2 separate regions of the Homo sapiens genome follow, and region 1 is linked to region 2. Evidence: promoter capture Hi-C in 16 types of primary human blood cells and fetal thymus (Javierre and others, 2016). All regions are on one chromosome and are shown on one strand. Each heading gives the region's core, a stretch centred on a gene start or on the middle of the fragment in contact. The rest is flanking DNA. Distances are from core to core; before and after follow the strand shown.

Region 1 (2,700 bases), core at 76-2,575, 180 kb after region 2:
GCCATTATCCCTGGAATCTTTATTTTATTTTTTTAACTGGTTATTGTGGGTAAAGACACGCATTGATTTTCTATTTATTAATAGGTGATTTAATGAGCCCTTGTTACGTATCTCAGTAGCTCTTCTGTTTTCCAGGTAGACTTTTTTCTGTATGGTAGTAATAATCATCATCTCTATTTTTCTAACAGATCATTTTAGGATGCTTAATTACTTTTGATAGAACAATGACAAATACAAAGCTTATGGGGATTCTTACCTTTATATAGACAATAATGGTATGCTTCAAGTGGTACTGCCTAAAGATAGATAGTCTTTACCATGACAGCAACTTTCTTCTGATTTGAGTTTATTAGGAAAATGTGTCAGAAAAGAATGTTGAATATTATCAGATGCCTTTCTATGCCTACATCCATGTAGAAGGTGATGACAGGATTTTCCCATGTAACCTCTAATAAGATGCATTATTCTAGTTATATAAGTACTTCTGTCAGTATTCCTTTTATCTTTAACTTTTCTTTATCACTTTATGCTGGAGTGTCTTTTAGACATATATAATTGGATATATATGTACCTGTAGGAGATATTTTATCATTTGATAGAAAGTTTAACACATTTACATTTTTGTTGCAATGGATATGATATACTTGATCTTCTTCTTGTCATTCTATTTCCGTATTCTGTATTTATGCCTCTTTTTTTCTTTGCTGTATGGATTATATTGCCTTTAATCATTTCTTAGTAATCTTGAAGACATATGTCCATTTTTATGGCCATGAATAGTTACCTTTAAGTGTTAAGAAAACACCTAAACTTCTGTTTATCTGTAGTTATCAGTATAAAGAAGAATAAATATCCATTGTATCCCCTTCACATAATACAAGGGACACACAGTTAAGAATGTTTTGGCTAAACAAACAAACAACAACAACAACAAAAACAAAGCTGTGCTCAATGTATCTTAAATAATTAAAGGCTTATTTCTCTAAAATGACAAGAAATCTGAACATAGTCAGTTCTTGGCATTGGTTTAGTAGATCAACAATATAAGAGTCAACATCTTTGCAAATCTCTTCCTCGTGGTAATAAAATGGCTGCTCCAGTTCCAGACATCATATTGACATTCAAGGCAGTAAGAATAAGGGAAGATCTGTGCCAGCCATCTCTATCCCAGGACCCAATACCTAGAAGACTTCACTTAACATCTCATTGGCCAGAACTCTGGCACATGCCCCTCCCCACAAACACAGAGGGCACTCAGAGAGGGAGCATCTCTTCTGCCTGGATGGTATAGGTGAAAAGAAAGGTGTGCCAGCCTCAGGAGAATTAGCACCTGTGAGCTCTTCCCACTTCAATGTCCTCTGTAGGGACTTTCCTACAAAATAAATATTTTCCTTTACAAATTATAGCATTGCATTATCAGTTAAACTGAAGGATAATATAGCATTTTCCCAGTGCATAGTAGGTAGTTCAAAAACATTAGTCAAACCATTTTTTCAGCTTATTCATGAATCACCTACCTTTGAATGGCTCTGCTTAAATTGCCAAATTCTGTATCTTTTATTATGTGATCTCATTTTTTATCTGCATTCCATTCCAACATGATTGCCTTTTTCTATTCCAAGTAATAACAAAATACATTTTCTTTCAAATAATTTGTATTGAGTTATCTATGAAAAAAGCTCCTTCAATGAAAAATAGACATAAATGCTGTCACAGCATCAGGAATAAGTAAGCAGATATCTACCTGTATGGTATTGCTCTCTGATGTTCTAATGCTTTTGTATTTAGATACTTGATCTGTAGTTTAGTTAACTCATTTATGGCTTTAGAGAATTTCTGGTTTAGTACAGAGATGTCAGGGGAATTCCGGTTGCAGAGTGTTGACTGAGATGGTCTTTCTGCTTTCCTCATACCACTTACAGTATGACTACTTGTATAATGAAATATGCTTTCTTCAAGGCTGGATGTTTCCCTGCAAAGCCTGGCATGCTTAGATTTATTTGTGTTGGAAAGTTTATGCAATTATATACACAGTTGTAACTTAAATAGACATGAATCCACTGAAGTTAGTTTTAGAAACTATCCAAAATTAATGCATTTTTGTGGTGCTTTAGAAAGTACTTAAAATTCAGGCTCTTTGGGTTCAAACCCTGGGTCTTCCACCATAAGATATATAGCTTGAGCTAGGCAGTCATTCTTTTTGGGCCTTATTTTATAAAATTTATAAATTTTGATAAATTCAATTACAAAATCAAGTTGGTATATTACAGGATTATTGTGAAGATTAGGAGTCATATGAAAGGGCTCAGAATACTGAATGAATATTTTAACTTACCAAGTCATTTTAACCTTGGTAAGTGTCTTCTTTCTTGGTAAATCTTCAACTCAAGTTCGGATGAACAGGAAAAATGAAAGCTTTAGCTCTGGGGAAATTCTATCATGCTCAGCTCTGCTCCTCAAGCACTGCAGCAGGAACTCTGTTTCTTTTCATTGCATGCTGTCCAGGTGCATTTGTACCAAATAAAATGGTCATGGTGCCCCTCATAGCCATTGTCTTGCAGCTGGTAGAGCACTTCCTAAAAGACCAGGTGTAAGGAACAGCGTGGGTATCTTGTGTGCCTGGTGAGGAGTGCCTATGAGATCTGGGATGGACACTACCCAAGAACAGCCCAACCTGAGTGGACTGGCATGATGGGTTCT
Region 2 (2,950 bases), core at 131-2,630:
CTGAGGATGTATTACCTCCATAGTCAGAAAAATTATGAAAGGTATTTAAAACCCAAACTGGCTTTGGGCATGCAGAATGCTTGGTTATTTCTGAAGTATAAAAATAACTCCCCCTCTGTCCCATCAGCACGCGTGTTGCAGGGAGTCTGACGTTGCTCGCTAAGTCTCTTTGGTCGTTTCATACTAATGCCCTTTGCTCCCCTGATTATCTCTCTGAGGTTGGGGCCGGGGGATGGGGGTGTGCTAGGCCTCCTGGATGTCTGTCTGCTGCCAAAACATCCTCTCCTGTCTCTGTCTCATTGGTGCATTTTGATGAACCTGTATTGCCTGGTCACTGCGCGCTAACCACCAAATTATGAAACATTTGTGCTGCAAGGGAGCTGAGAGATCCTTAAACTCAATGAACCATTAGGCATAAGACACACACACACACATACACACGTGAATACACACAAACACACAAACAGCTTGGCTGCTCTGGGTGAAGCATGTGTGTGTTTGGGGGAAATTTCCTTCCCCACCCGTGGTCGTCCATTTGCCCATGAGCAGCTTCCGAGGCAGGTCCGTGGACCCCAACGCTGTGTAACACCGTGTGAAAAACACAAAGGCTTGCAGCCCTCTCACTGCAGACGTGGGAACACGACTCTGTTTAAAACCCTTCAAAGCCCGCCTTCTTGCCGTGTGATGCTGCCTGGGCCAGCAGGGCAGGTCACCACGCTGTCTCTTCAAAGCAGCTCGCTCATGCCCACAGCGCTGGGCACAAGGGCAGCCACGAGCTGTTTGATTTCTGCGTCCCCAGCAGATGGCTTGGTGCACAGGGGCAGGGCTCGTCTGTCCCTCTCACTGCTGCGTCCCAGGCTATGTCTCCACCATGTAACTTCAGACAAGTTCCTCAGCGTCTCTGTGTCCTGGTTCCCTCATTTGTAACATCAGGATATTGATAAGGATCATAGTAATAGGGATGTCCTTATGGGGCCTCATGAAAATGAAGAGTTCTCTGTGATGTGCCTGGAACCACAGAGGGCAGCAAGTGGGAGCCACAGAAAGTCATCTCTTTATCATAGTTGTCATTGGTAACTATGACGGTTATCAAGGGCAGGGGTCTCCCACCTTCTGCATCCAGGCCTTGTCATTCCTTATAAAATTTTCTCCTTTCAAGGACTTTCAATGCCCTGAAAACGGAATGCTCCTCCCTGCTCCCCATCAGCTGCTGCAGAGCCCTGAACCCCTTGAACTTGCCTTGCTTAGTTCTTTCAGGGGCTGCCTTGGATGCCACCTCACTTCCCTCTTCTTGGCTCTGTGGCTGTCAGAGGGGCTGGGCACTGGGTTACTTCATCAGTTCCTGGGTGTTGATCGGCAGGAAACAGTGGTTTCCTGTTCATATCCTGCCTGAGCCTGGGCCGGGTGGAGGTGTCCTGCATGGAGTCTTGTGAAATCGCGTGGACTGCAACACCCAGCAGCGCGGTGAGTCCACCCTGAAATCCACAGTGACCCACGCGGCATGTGCTGGGAATTGAACGCTTGGGGAAAGAGCTGGGCTCCAGCGGATCAGCCCCGACCAAGTCGTTCCCACAGCTCAGGACCGGACGCTACAAGCCCACTTTGTAGCAGTTTGGCGGACGGCAAACTTTTGCAACACAGTGCAAAAACCATTTAACACCTTTAAGGGAATTGGAAATGGGTTTTTCATGTGTGGTGGTGCTGAAAATTGAGAATAATGACAGAATTATTAAAAACAGCCTTCTCGGCCTTAGACTCTTAATTGCCTCTGGTCTGTAAAACTGACAAATAAGCACTGTAGAAGCCACAGATGAAATATGTCGTCTTGGGAGCCCTGGAGAATTGTCTCTGAATTCTTTTGTTTATGGATTGTAGAAACTGCTTTGGGGGTAGTTGGATGTAGAAGCAGAAGGACAGAGTGGGGAGCTGGGAGCAGGAGGCCTGGGTTTGTCTCCTGAGTCTGTTTCCACTGGGGCCTGAGGCTCCCGTGTGAGGGAACATGAATGGGCCAGGCACATGGGCCCTGTGGGGTGACAGAGCTGTGGGCTCCATGGTGGCTCTGTGGGCAGCTAGCTTGGGGATGGCTGAGATAAAGACAAGTAGTTTTCCTTCCTGCAGGACTTCTCAGAGCCTTTAGTGTGGTTATAATGATAGAAAACAGTATTAAGTCCATACCCTGAACCAGAAACAATGCTAAAAGCTTTGCACTTGGCCTTTTTTTTTCTTTTTCTTTTATCAACATGTGTGAGGACGGAAGCTTAGGCTTACAGATATGGACTCATTGAGAGTGAGTGGACGTGTCTGATCTTTAACCCAGTTCTGTCTGACCAAAAAGCCTGTGCTCTAACCACTGTGCACCCCTGCCTGTCTGTCCTGTTGAGAGAACTGTAGGGAAAGCCTTGAGATTATGTATCCAGTGCTCCCCTCCTCCTGATTGGAAGATGGCAGCTCAGAAGGTTAGGGTGCCTTCTCCTGTCCTCCGAGTGGTTAGATGCACGTGTCCTCTTCTGTCCTCTGCTCTTCCCACATCCCTCTCTCTCTGGTGCTCTGGTGGAGCCCCTGGGATCAGGGGTCACAGGAGCACCTGGGCCATTTGCATGGTTGTTGGTAAAGGGTGTTCCCCCACCCCCCATTAAGGTGCCTGCCATCAAAGTGCCTTATTGCTTGAGTTCCAATCTCGGCTTCACAACTCTGTAGCTGTGTGACTTTGCACAATGTACTGAGCCTCTCTGTGCCTGAACATCCTTGTTTGTAGATAGTAAAGATAATTGTCCCTTACTCCTAGGTTTCACATTGAGTGTTTAGCAAGTTAACGTTTGTAACGTGTGAAGTCATAAGATGCAGGACTGGATGACTGCCCTACCCACAAGAGGCCTAGGATCTTCCCAAGTTGCACTACTTATGGGACAGGTCTGCCAAGCAGCCCTTGTGAAGATAAAGGTGGTGATGA

Evidence for each region. The method cuts DNA at HindIII sites, captures the fragments that hold promoters and counts their contacts. A CHiCAGO score of 5 or more calls a contact.
Region 1: a fragment that was not itself captured here is called in contact with the fragment with the promoter of LINC02910 in region 2 in 1 of 17 cell types (neutrophils); the score reaches 6.2 in neutrophils.

What each region holds. Positions count from the first base shown.
Region 1 is chr20:60,234,915-60,237,614 of GRCh38, forward strand. All of the region lies in intron 3 of MIR646HG (MIR646 host gene), which reads left to right. Among named protein-coding and RNA genes, the nearest start is that of MIR646, 72 kb to the right of the region's middle. The HindIII fragment of the contact is 2,176 bases long and covers 238-2,413 here.
Region 2 is chr20:60,054,545-60,057,494 of GRCh38, forward strand. LINC02910 (long intergenic non-protein coding RNA 2910) reads left to right here and starts at 1,381. Exons shown (of 4, transcript NR_161293.1): 1 at 1,381-1,464. The HindIII fragment of the contact is 13,245 bases long and covers 1-2,198 here.